Regions from separate parts of the Homo sapiens genome. Here regions 2, 3 and 4 are each linked to region 1. The links are contacts of gene promoters, found by promoter capture Hi-C in blood cells and fetal thymus (Javierre and others, 2016). All regions are on one chromosome and are shown on one strand. The core of a region is centred on a gene start or on the middle of the fragment in contact, and the rest is flanking DNA. Distances in the headings are between cores, read along the strand shown.

Region 1 (2,896 bases), core at 166-2,665:
AGCCACCTATGTATTTTTATAGAGACAGGGTCTCATTCTGTCACCCAGGCAGGAGTGCAGTGGCAGTGATCAGAGCTCACTGCAGCCTCCAACTCCTAGGCTCAAGTGATCCCTGCAGAGTAGCTAGGGCTACAGGTGCACACCACGACCAGTATTTTTTTGTTTTGTTTTATCGAGACGGAGTCTTGCTCTGTTGCCCATGCTGGAGTACAGTGACACAATCTCAGCTCACTGCAACCTCCGCCTCCCGGATTCAAGCAGTTCTCCTGTCTCAGCCTCCCAAGTAACGGATTACAGGCACATGCCACCACACCCAGCTAATTTTTGTATTCTTAGTAGAGACAGTGTTTCACCATGTTGGCCAGGCTGGTCTCGAACTCTTGACCTTGTGATCTGCCTGCCTCGGCCTCCCAAAGTGCTGGGATTACAGGCATGAGCCATTGTGCCCGGCCCTTGTTTTGTTTTTTTAGAGATGGGTTCTTGCAATGTTGCCCAGGCTGGTTGGTCTCCAAGTCCTGAGCTCAAGTGATCCTCCCACCTCAGCCTCCCAAAGTGTTGGGATTTCAGTTGTGAGCCACTGCACCTAGCTAGACCCACTGGTATTCAGAGCAGTGATGAGCACCTTGCTATGCACACACTAGTAATAACAGTAAATTGTAAATCAGTAAATAGCAATTGTATAACCTAAATAAAAATGAATTATCTAGTTCTTTAGGTCCCTAGCTTATGCCTTTTCTCCTCCTTAGTAGAAAAGTCAGAACTCTGGTATTTAGGACAAAGTCTTACCTTCTTTCTTTCTGCTGTGTCCGCTGAGTAAGGCAAATATTAGAAAAGCAGCTAGGCCAGTATCATGGGACTCTCAGTTGTTTTTGCTTTGGGACCTTTGACTGTCAGTCTCAGCCCAGCAATTTAACGTATTTTTCTAGATTAAACAGTGTTGCTTCTGAATTCCTCCCTTGGACCTTGGACTGCTGGGTCCTTTCAGGAGACAAAGGATACCAGATTGGGGAGTACGGGCTACTGTTAGACAATGTGAACTAGGAGGTGACCAAAGTTGACCTTAGAGTCAACTTAATTTTGCAGGTGAGGGAACAGAGACCTAAACGACCACTGGCTCCCAGTAAAGCAGATTCGCAGCATACTGTGCTTTGCCTGAATGGGTGTTGTAGACACAGGGGCAGAGGCGTGTTTGGAGAAAGGGTTCAGAATTTGGAGTGCGACAGACGTAGGTTCGAACAGAGCTCTGCTACTCTGTGGCTGTGAGGGCTCCCGCACACACCCTCTCGAACGCTCGGCTTCCTCATCGGTCCGCAAGCCTGGGTGCGAGGCGTCAACGCGCAGCTGGGTGCGCAGGAGGCCCCGAGGCCGGATGGGCCGCCGCGCCGACGCCCCCTGCCGGCCGGCCCGCGCCCAACGCTCGGCTTGTGGGACGCCCGCGGTCGGATGCCCTCCGTCCGCTCCCTCCTCCGCCTCTTGGCCGCCGCGGCGGCCTGTGGCGCCTTCGCCTTCCTGGGCTATTGTATTTACCTCAACCGGAAGCGGCGCGGGGACCCCGCGTTCAAGCGCCGCCTGCGGGACAGTGAGTGGGACCGAGGCGGAGGCGCGGCCGGGCCGGGCAGCGCGGGCGGGCTGCCGGCCGGGAGGGCCCCCCACTGAGAGGCCGGGCCGTGAGTGCCTCAGCCTCTGCCGAGGGGCCCGCGGCGCCCGGGCAGGCAGGACCACTGGGCCCACGCGTGCCTCTGGACGGGCCTCCCAGCCAGCATGTGCCGTGTTGTGTTCGCAGAAAGAAGAGCAGAGCCTCAAAAGGCTGAGGAGCAGGGCACGCAGGTGCAGTGCTTTCGATCCGCACAGGTAGCTCAGTAGACGCAGGTCCGGGCTCGCTGGGTTGCTTGGCTCCTGGCGGGCTCGGCAGCAGGTAGTTAGTTCCCTCAGCCGCCCGTGCCCGGGAAGAGGCCTGCCCTCGCGCGCCACGCACCGCCTCAGGCCCAGTCACTCTCCTCTCACAAAAGGGAGGGAAGGAAGGAGGAAGAAGTTGGAGTTATAAAAAGGCAGCTGCAAAGCAAAACACTGTACAACAGGCACTTCTTTTAACTGGAAGAAGGAAGAGGAGCCTTTTGCCCTGTCAGAGCCGCACAGGACACTTAAAAACCCAGGCTGGCCACGGTCACATGGCAGTAACTTCTAGATTGTTCTCCCGCAGGGCCTTTCTTGTAGCTCAGAAGCAGAAGGCATCTTCGTGTTTTGTAAATCTCTGCGGCAAAATTTGATTAGTCCCTTTTTTGTTGTTTTTAAGAGGCGGGCCGGGCTTGGTGGCTCACGCCTGTAATCCCAGCACTTTGGGAGGCAAGGCGGGCAGATCACGTGAGGTCAGGAGTTTGAGACCAGCCTGGCCAACATGGTGAAAGCCTGTCTCTACTAAAAATACAAAAATTAGCCGGGAGTGGTGGCGTGTGCCTGTAGTCTCAGCTACTTGGGAGACTGAGGCAGGAGAATTGCTTGAGTCCGGGAGGTGGCAGTTGCAGCCTGGGCGACAGAGCAAGACACTGTCTATAAAAAAAGAAAGAGACAAGGGTGTTCCTATGTTGCCCAGGCTGAACTAGAACTCCTGGCCACAAGCAATCCGCAGTTGATGCTGGATGTTTACTTAGCTGAGATTGTTAGCCAGAGCACCTACACGTCTGTGTGATCTGGGATTCTTCATTTGTGTGATGGGCTGTGTCCCAAGGGACAAGCAAACACATATATGTATGTGTGTATATATATGTGTGTGTGTGTGTGTCTGTGTATAGAGAGAGCACGCACATGCATGTGAACTAGAACATGTGCCCATGTGGAAGAGCAGATGGTACCACTTCTGGCAACATTGAAGCCTACTCAATTTAAAGGGAGAGGAAAT
Region 2 (2,896 bases), core at 181-2,680, 250 kb before region 1:
GGCGTGCACCACCATGCCTGGCTAATTTTTGTATTTTTATTAGAGACGGGGTTTCACCATGTTGGCCAGACTGGTCTTGAACTCCTGACTTCAAGTGATCCACCTGCCTCAGCCTCCCAAAGTGCTGAAATTACAAGCGTGAGCTCCCCTCCCCTTCCTTTCCCTTTCTTCTCTTTTTTTCTTTCCCCAGGCTGGACTTGAACTCCTGGGCTCAAGCAATCCTCCTGCATCAAGCTCCTAAGTAGGTAGGACTACAGGCACATACCACCACACAGCACAAGAAGACTGACTTTTTCTACGTGAGAAAAAAGGAATCCATGGATTTAGAGCTAAGGCTTCCTGCCAACTACCACCACCACATGAGTGTACCATCTTGGAAATGGGTCCAGCAGCCCCAGTCAACCCTTCAGATGACTGCACCCCTGGCTGACATCTTGACTACACCTTCTTGAAAGACTTTGTGCCATAACCACACAGCTAAGTTACTCCCAAATTCATGATGCATAGAACTGGTATAAAATAACAAATATTTATTGTTATTTCAAGCCACTAAGCTACGGGGTAATTTGTTACACAGAAATCTTGAGTCCACAATGCTGCAGGGAAATACAGGAATGGAATGACAGCACGAGTACAATAGTGTCATGTGCAGAAAAGAAACAGCCTATCAGGGATTACAAATTTAGCTGAAGAAAACTGAAGCCAGAGATGACTAGAAGAAACATAAGTCCCCAAACAATCTGCAAGGATAATGAGACGGGTGCTAAGTTTCCCCATATGCTGATGGGGGTTTGAAACAAACATATCTGAATATTAAATTACATGCTGGTAGCTAGCATTGTTTTTGTTTATTTGTATGTTTATTTTTGAGATGGAGTCTCACTCTGTTGCCCAGGCTGGAGTGCACTGATGCCATCTCGGCTCGCTGCAACCTCTGTCACCCAGGTTCAAGTGATTCTCCTGCCTCAGCCTCCCAAATAGGTGGGATTACAGGTGCTCACTACCATGCCTGGCTAGTTTTTGTATTTTTAATAGAGACAGGGTTTCACCATGCTGGCCAGGTTGGTCTCGAACTTCTGACCCCAAGTGATCCACCCACCTCAACCTCCCAGAGTGCTAGGATTACAGGCATGAGCCACCGTGCCCATCCTCTTTTTTTTTTTTTTTTTTTTTTTTCTGAGACAGAGTCTTGCTCTGTCACCCAGGTCGGAGTTTGATGGTGTGATCTCAGCTCACTGCTCCCTCCACCTTCCAGGTTGAAGTGATTCTCCTGCCTCAATTTCCTAAGTAGCTGGGATTACAGGTGCCCACCATCACACCCAGCTAATTTTTGTATTTTTAGTATGGACAGGGTTTAACCATGTTGGCCAGGCTGATCTAGAACTCCTGACCTCAAGCGATCCACCCACCTCAGCTTCCCAAAGTGCTGGGATTACAGGTGTGAGCCACCACACCTGGCCACACTGTTCTTTTTAAAAAAGAGAAAATGGCAAAGATATTTGATAAAGAGGAAATAGCATGTGCCACAGCATGTCAACATTCTGGACATTAGTTATCACTGTACTTTAGATGAGCCAGGATGCACTCTAGTTCATAGCCAGGTAACAGATCACTGAATTTGGCTTGATGCCTCTATTTGCCTTCCTTAAAACAAAAACGTAATGAAGGGGCCAGGTGCAGTGGCTCATACCTGTAGTCCCAATACTTTGAGAGGCCAAGGCAGGAGGATCATCTGAGCCCAGGAGTTTGAGACCAGCCTGAGCAACATGGCAAATCTCATCTCTACAAAATGAGCCAGGCACACACCAGTAGTCCTAGTTACTCAGGAGGCTGAGGTGGGAGAATCACTTGAGCCCAGAAAGTCAAGGCTGCAGTGAGCCGTGATCATACCACTACACTCCATTCTGGGCGACAGAGAAAAGACCCTGTCTCAAAAACAAACAGACAACAACAACAACAACAAAACATATGAGGCCTGGCGCAGTGGCTCACGCCTGAAATCCCAGCACTTTGGGAGGCCAAGGCGGGTGGATCACGAGGCCAGGAGATTGAGACCATCCTGGCTAACACGGTGAAACCCCGTCTCCACTAAAAATACAAAAAAATTAGCCGGGCATGGTGGCGGGCGCCTGTAGTCCCAGCTACTCGGGAGGCTGAGGCAGGAGAATGGCGTGAACCCAGGAGGCCGAGCTTGCCGTGAGCCAAGATCGCACCACTGCACTCCAGCCTGGGTGGCAGAACAAGACTCCATCTCAAAAAAAAACAAACAAAAAAAATATGATAGCTGTGAAACAAGAGAATTGACAGTCAATGAAATTACACCTTCGGATTTCTGTTCAGACAAACTGACCTACTAAATTCTATCTATATAGTCGAACAGTCATAAAAGCTATAGAACTCTGTGGTTCATTTCTGATCTGTTCAGATAGCTGCCCCTTCCTAAACAAATACTTTTTCTATTCAGTGAAATCTTACTAAACGTGTGGCCTAAAACCTTGGCCCACATGATCCCATACTTCTGAATAAAAATCTGAAAGCCCCAGGCCATCATGAATGGTAATAGAGTTTAGAGGGACTTGGGCTGGCATCAGAAAAATGATTCCTGAATCTTAGCTTTATTGACATTGAAACTTGCTATATGATACTGAGCAAGTGGCCTCAGTTTCTCCTTTGACAAAATGAGGAATTAAAATAATCATTCAAATCCCTTCTTCATCCATGATTTTATTCTCATACCTCACCTATATGACATGAAATAAAAATACAAATATTTCTATATTCCTATAATGTTGCCATCAACTAGGAAAGGCACTCAAATGGTGGAGCAGATGCTTTATGTGCTATGTGTATGTTCTGGAGTCATGTGGACTGAGAGAAAAATTTTACAAACAAATCA
Region 3 (2,896 bases), core at 144-2,643, 190 kb before region 1:
GTATGATGATCATTTTTAGCAACGTTTTTAGCAAATTTTTGTTTTACTAACATGAAACAAAAATGGAAATACCTAAATACTCAAGAAAAGAGCATCGTTTTTAAAATAATGAAATATGTGGTTTTAAAAATAATACTGTAATTCCAGCAGTTTGGAAAGCTGAGGCGGGCTGACCACTTGAGCCCAGTAGTTCAAGACCAGCCTGGGCAACATGGGGAAACCCAGCTCTACACAAAATACAAAATTTAGCCGGCGGTAGTGTCGTGCCCGAAATCCTAGCACTTTGGGAGGCCAAGGGGGGAGGATCGCTTGAGCCTGGGAAGCGGAGGCTGCAGTGATCTGAGTTTGTGCCACTGCACTCCAGCCTGGGCGACAGAGCGAGACCCTGCCTCAAAAAAAAAAAAAAAAAAAGTGATAGCAATGAAGATTATGTTAATATGGGCAGAAGCTTACTGTATGAGTTAATTATGTATGAAGTGTGATTAAAACTATGTCAAATATATATGCATAATCATAAGAAGTAGACTGAAAGTGAATACACCAATATGGAAGCTAACAATATTAGAATGATGGAATTATGAGTGATACAGATGAATTATATGAATGAAGTCACATAATGTAGTACAGATTCAGAGTTGTAGATATGTCTTGCCTAAATTCTGCTAAAATTAACAACTAGGAAAAAAGTTGGCCAGGCGCGGTGGCCCACGCCTGTAATACCAGCACTTTGGGAGGCCGACGCGGGCGGGTCACGAGGTCAGGAGATCGAGACTATCCTGGCTAACACGGTGAAACCTCGTCTCTACTAAAAAAAAAAAAAAAAATTAGCCCTGCGTGGTGGCCGGCACCTGTAGTCCCAGCTACTCAGGAGCCTGAGGCAGGAGAATGGCGTGAACCCGGGAGGCGGAGCTTGCAGTGAGCCGAGATCGCGCCACTGCACTCCAGCCTGGGTGACAGAGCCAGACTCCATCTCAAAAAAAAAAAAGTAAATGCTGCCCTAAAATAATACATTTGTTTTTTTCAGCATCACGAATTTCATAGAATTTTTTTCTGTTAATACACAAGCATTAATAAATAGTATTATTAGTTTTGTGGAGTGATTTTTTTTGATCCCTTAAAATACATCAGGTATTTTCAAATGTTATTGTGGCCATTGTTTTGAAACAAATACAGAGAAAATTAGTTTCTGTGACAAATATTTAAAAGAATACTATAAGTTGTTTCAATTTTCCATTTATTTGCAGGTGTGGATTTGCTGGAGAAACTGGTCCAAGATGTATAATTCCTAGTGTGATAAAAAGAGCTGGGATGCCTAAGGTATTTAAAAAAAAATATTAGCAAAATAAATGCCATACTATAAAATGTTTTAAAATATGACTTCAAGTAAGATTGATTAAAACAGTACTAAAGGCCAGCCGTGGTGGCTCACGCCTGTAATCCCAACACTTTGGGTGGCTGAGGCGGGTGGATCACCTGAGATCAGGAGTTTGAGACCAGCCTGGACAACATGGTGAAACCCTGTCTCAACTAAAAATACAAAAATTAGCCGGGAGTGGTGGCAGGCACCTCTAATCCCAGCTCCTCAGGGGGCCGAGGCAGGAGAATTGCTTGAACCCGGGAGGCGGAGGTTGCAGTGAGCCAAAATCAAGCCATCGCACTCCAGCCTGGGGGGCAAGAGCAAGACTTCGTCTCAAAAAAAAAAAAAAAAAAAGAAACAAGAAACAGTACTAAATATATACTTTGTGGCTATATTTCCAAGGAAAAGTTTTTCTTTTTAAATCAACTTTATCAAGGTCTAATTTTGCACACCATAAGTATATCATGTTGTACAAGTACCACCACAATCCAGTTTTAGAATGTTTTCATCACCCCAGTAAAATCCCTAATACCCGTTTACAATTAATCCTCATTCCTATCCTCAGCCCATTAGGGTGTACCTTCTGTTTCTATAGATTTGTCTTTTCTGTACATTTTATGTAAATGGAATCATATATCAAGAGAAAAATTTTAACTTCAGTAAAATACTTTTATAAGTCTTATAACCACTGAATTATTTTATTATTTATAATATATCAGATATTTATTCCCTTATTTACAGTTTCAAAACCCAGAGAATTTTGAAAACAAACTTTCAAAAAGTTTCTTGCCACAGCTAATTTGGCAGATTAGAAATTACAACCAGTAGAAAGAATGATTTTGCATGTTATAAAATTCACTTGTTAAAAAATGAGATGTAGCTGTTACCACAGTAACATTATATATGCATTCCAGAAAATACCTTTGTTCTGCAAAATGGTACATTTTTAAAAAACAAAACAAAACAGGCTTATGGGAAAAATAAGCTTGAGGTAGTCCATATAAAACCTGTGTAACTTTGTAATCAGAGGACTAGCAAAAACAATAATTGATGCCTCCACAAAATTTAAATAGGATTGGCAGGCAGCTGAGTGTGGCTGGAGGCTGTCTTAGGGAATATTAAAAATAAAATTGTGGGCTGGGCAGATTACACGCCTGTAATCGCAGCACTTTGGGAGGCCGAGGCGGGCAGATCACGAGGTCAGGAGATCGAGACCATCCTGGCTAACACAGTGAAAACCCATCTCTACTAAAAAAAAAAAAAAAAATTAGCCAGGCATGGTGGCAGGCACTGGTATTCCCAGCTACTTGGGAGGCTGAGGCAGGAGAATGGCGTGAACTCGGGAGGCGAAGCTTGCAGTGAGCCGAGATTGCGCCACTGCACTCCAGCCTGGGCGACAGAGCGAGACTCCATCTCAAAAAAATAAAATAAAATAAAATCGTGGAGGTGGTGCGCACCTGTAGTCCCCAGCTACTTGGGAGGCCGAAGTGGGAGGATCACTTGAGCCCAGGAGGTTGAGGCTGCAGTGAGCCAAGATTG
Region 4 (2,896 bases), core at 295-2,794, 130 kb before region 1:
ATGCTGATTTTCTTCAAAGAAATGTTGAAAGGCTTTAAAATAGTGACAATGAGCTATATATCCTGAAGGATAAGTCTCATATCGGTAGAAAATGGAAGGAAATGACGGTAGGGATGGGAATTGAATAGTTAAAATATTCCGCATATAAGATGATGTGTAAGATGCTGCTGATTTCTTTTCTACTCTAAGGCAAATATAGTTGTCCCTTGGTATTTGTGGGGGATTGGTTTTAGGACCTCCCATGAATACCAAAATCCAAGGTTGCTGAAGTCCCTGATATAAAATGGTTAAGTATTTGCATATAACCTGTGCATATCCTCCTGTATGTTGTCATCTCTAGATTACTTGCAATACCTAACACAGTGTAAATAGCTGTTACACTGTATTGTTTAGGGAATAATGACAAGAAAATCACAGTTGTTCAGTACAGAAGCAATGTTTTTTGAAAGTTTTCTATCTGTGGTTTGTTGAATCCACAGATGCAGAACTCATGGAAACAGTGCCCACTGTATGTCACAATTTCAGAAAATCAGTATTTCATACAATCAGCTAATAGCCTAATTTGTTGAGCACAGAAAAATACACTGAACCAATTCTGATTATTGCAGAGAAATGATTGGCAGGATATTGGGAAATAGAATGAAGGGTGGAAAGAATTTCACATGGATTCAGTATACTCTCCGTCAGGAATTTTGTTCCCTTGATCTTTTTGTGTTTATGCCTTATTTATTGGGCCCTCTCATAGTTGTGGTTTTCATCTATCGTTACTCCTTTCCCTGTACTGCTAGACTTTCCAGGAGACCTTCATCAGAAAGATTAATACTAAACAAACAAAAGCTACATGAATTTTGAATAATCTCATGTAATAGTTTTAATTAATTGAAACCACTGTTTCAAAGTACTTACTGAGTTATATGTGTATTAGTAATTTATCTCAGAAAGAAAATATAACTGCATTTTAAAATAATTTTTTCACAAATACTTTTATGTTATTGCCATGGTTTAAGCTGTTTGTATACTTTCATGCAGTTTCATGTTAGGGTCTTACAGTGTGAATGACGGTGCGCAACTCTACATGATTGACCCATCAGGTGTTTCATACGTGAGTAATTTTGAATCATTTGAAATTCTATTTTAGTTTAATGGTATTTCATTAGCATTTAAGTCTCATTATAAGATTATATGAAATTAAAAAAAAACTCATTCAAGGAAAGTAATTTTTCTTTTTTTTTTTTTTACAACAACCTCTTGTCCAACAGAATTTTTTTTTTTTTCCTTTTTGGGGGAACAGGGTCTCACTGTGGCCCAGGCTGGAGCACAGTGGTGTGATCACAGCTCACTGCAACCTCTGCCTCCCAGGTTCAAACAGTTCTTCTGCCTCAGCCTCCCGGGTAGCTGGGATTACAGGTGTGCACCACCTGGCTAATTTTTTTTATTTTTAGTAGAAACAGGCCTTTGCCATGTTGGCCAGACTGGTCTTGAATTCCAGTCCTCAAGAGATCTACCCACCTGGGTCTCCCAAAGTGCGAGTATTACAGGTGTGAGCCACCAGGCCCAGCCATGTTTTCTTATCATTAATAACTGATACGAGGCAGAGGAAAGATTTTTTTTCAGTATGTTATTTATAGAAACTGTATAGTGCATATAGTATTTTGAATATGTGATTTTCCTTTATTACTATAAACACTGTCTTAAAACTGTATTTAATGTCTTTTTTCCTCATTCTTGCCCAGGCTGGAGTGCAGTGACACAATCATAGCTCACTTCAGCCTCTCAACTCCTGGGCTCAGGCGATCCTCCTACCTAAGCCTCCCAAGTAGCTGGGACTACAGGCTCATGCCACCATGCCTAGCTAATTTTTGTATTTTTTTGGTGTCTATAGAGACAAGGTCTTTCCACGTTCCCAGGGCTGGTCTCAAACTCCTGGCCTTAAGCAGTCCTCCTGCCTTGGACTCCCAAAATGCTGGGACTACAGGCGTGAGCATCGATGTCCAGCCATGTCATCCCTTTTATTTTATTTATTTATAAGATGGAGTGTCACTCTGTCTCCCAGGCTGGAGTGCAGTGGCTCGATCTTGGTTCACTGCAACCTCTTCCGCCTCCTAGGTTCAAGCAATTCTCCTGTCTCAGCCTCCTGATTAGCTGGGATTACAGGCATGTACTACCATGCCTGGTTAATTTTTGTATTTTTAGTACAGATGGGGTTTTGCCATGTTGGCCAGCTGGTCTCCAACTCCTGACCTCAGGTGGTCTGCCCACCCCGGCCTGCCAAAGTGCAAGGATTACAGGCGTGAGCCACAGTGCCGGACCTAATTTTGTTTCAGACAGCGTCTCGCTCTGTCACCCAGACTGGAGTGCAGTGGCGCCAAACCTCCACCTCCCCAGTTCAAGCAATTCTGCCTCAGCCTCCCGAGTAGGCTGGGATTAGAAGCATGCATCACCACACCCGGCTAATTTTTGTATTTTCAGTAGAGACGAGGTTTCACCATGTTAGCCAGGCTGGTCTCGAACTCCTGATCTCAAGTAATCCGCCCACCTTGGTCTCCCAAAATGCTGGGATTATAGGTGTGAGCCACCTTGCCCTGCCTTCCCTTTTAAAGAGAAGGTTTAAATGTGATTTCTAAGAGCTTTCCCTAAATTATTACCATTTTTTTTTTTTTTTGAGACAGAGTCTTGCTCAGTTGCCCAGGCTGGACTGCAGTGGTGCAATCTTGGCTCACTGTAACCTCTGCCTCCCGGATTCAAGGGATTCTTGTGCCTCAGCCTCTCAAGTAGCTGGGATTACAGGCCTGTACCATCACACCTGGCTAATTTTTGTATTTTTAGTAGAGACAGACTTTCACCATGTTGCCCAGGCTGGTCTGGAACTCCTGGCCTCAAGTGATCCACGTGCCTC

Evidence for each region. Contacts are between HindIII fragments. The CHiCAGO score rates a contact against its expected background, and 5 or more counts as called.
Region 2: a contact is called between a fragment that was not itself captured here and the fragment with the promoter of TOMM20L in region 1, in 1 of 17 cell types (naive CD8 T cells). The highest score is 6.4, in naive CD8 T cells.
Region 3: a fragment that was not itself captured here is called in contact with the fragment with the promoter of TOMM20L in region 1 in 4 of 17 cell types (naive CD8 T cells, total CD4 T cells, total CD8 T cells and 1 more); the score reaches 6.3 in naive CD8 T cells.
Region 4: a contact is called between a fragment that was not itself captured here and the fragment with the promoter of TOMM20L in region 1, in 1 of 17 cell types (erythroblasts). The highest score is 5.1, in erythroblasts.

Annotation. Positions count from the first base shown.
Region 1 is chr14:58,394,515-58,397,410 of GRCh38, forward strand. TOMM20L (translocase of outer mitochondrial membrane 20 like) reads left to right here and starts at 1,416. Exons shown (of 5, transcript NM_207377.3): 1 at 1,416-1,579; 2 at 1,784-1,827. The coding sequence starts at 1,444. TOMM20L-DT (TOMM20L divergent transcript) reads right to left here and starts at 1,191. Exons shown (of 2, transcript NR_187161.1): 1 at 787-1,191. RefSeq lists silencers at 1,224-1,743, 1,814-1,863. The HindIII fragment of the contact is 7,740 bases long and covers 1-2,896 here.
Region 2 is chr14:58,142,614-58,145,509 of GRCh38, forward strand. The region is part of intron 1 of ARMH4 (armadillo like helical domain containing 4); the gene reads right to left. Among named protein-coding and RNA genes, the nearest start is that of ARMH4, 8.2 kb to the right of the region's middle. The HindIII fragment of the contact is 3,451 bases long and covers 1-2,896 here.
Region 3 is chr14:58,201,611-58,204,506 of GRCh38, forward strand. It overlaps ACTR10 (actin related protein 10), which reads left to right. Exons shown (of 13, transcript NM_018477.3): 2 at 1,245-1,317. Among named protein-coding and RNA genes, the nearest start is that of ACTR10, 2.9 kb to the left of the region's middle. The HindIII fragment of the contact is 1,894 bases long and covers 447-2,340 here.
Region 4 is chr14:58,259,919-58,262,814 of GRCh38, forward strand. PSMA3 (proteasome 20S subunit alpha 3) reads left to right here. Exons shown (of 11, transcript NM_002788.4): 6 at 1,030-1,102. Among named protein-coding and RNA genes, the nearest start is that of PSMA3, 17 kb to the left of the region's middle. The HindIII fragment of the contact is 4,600 bases long and covers 1-2,896 here.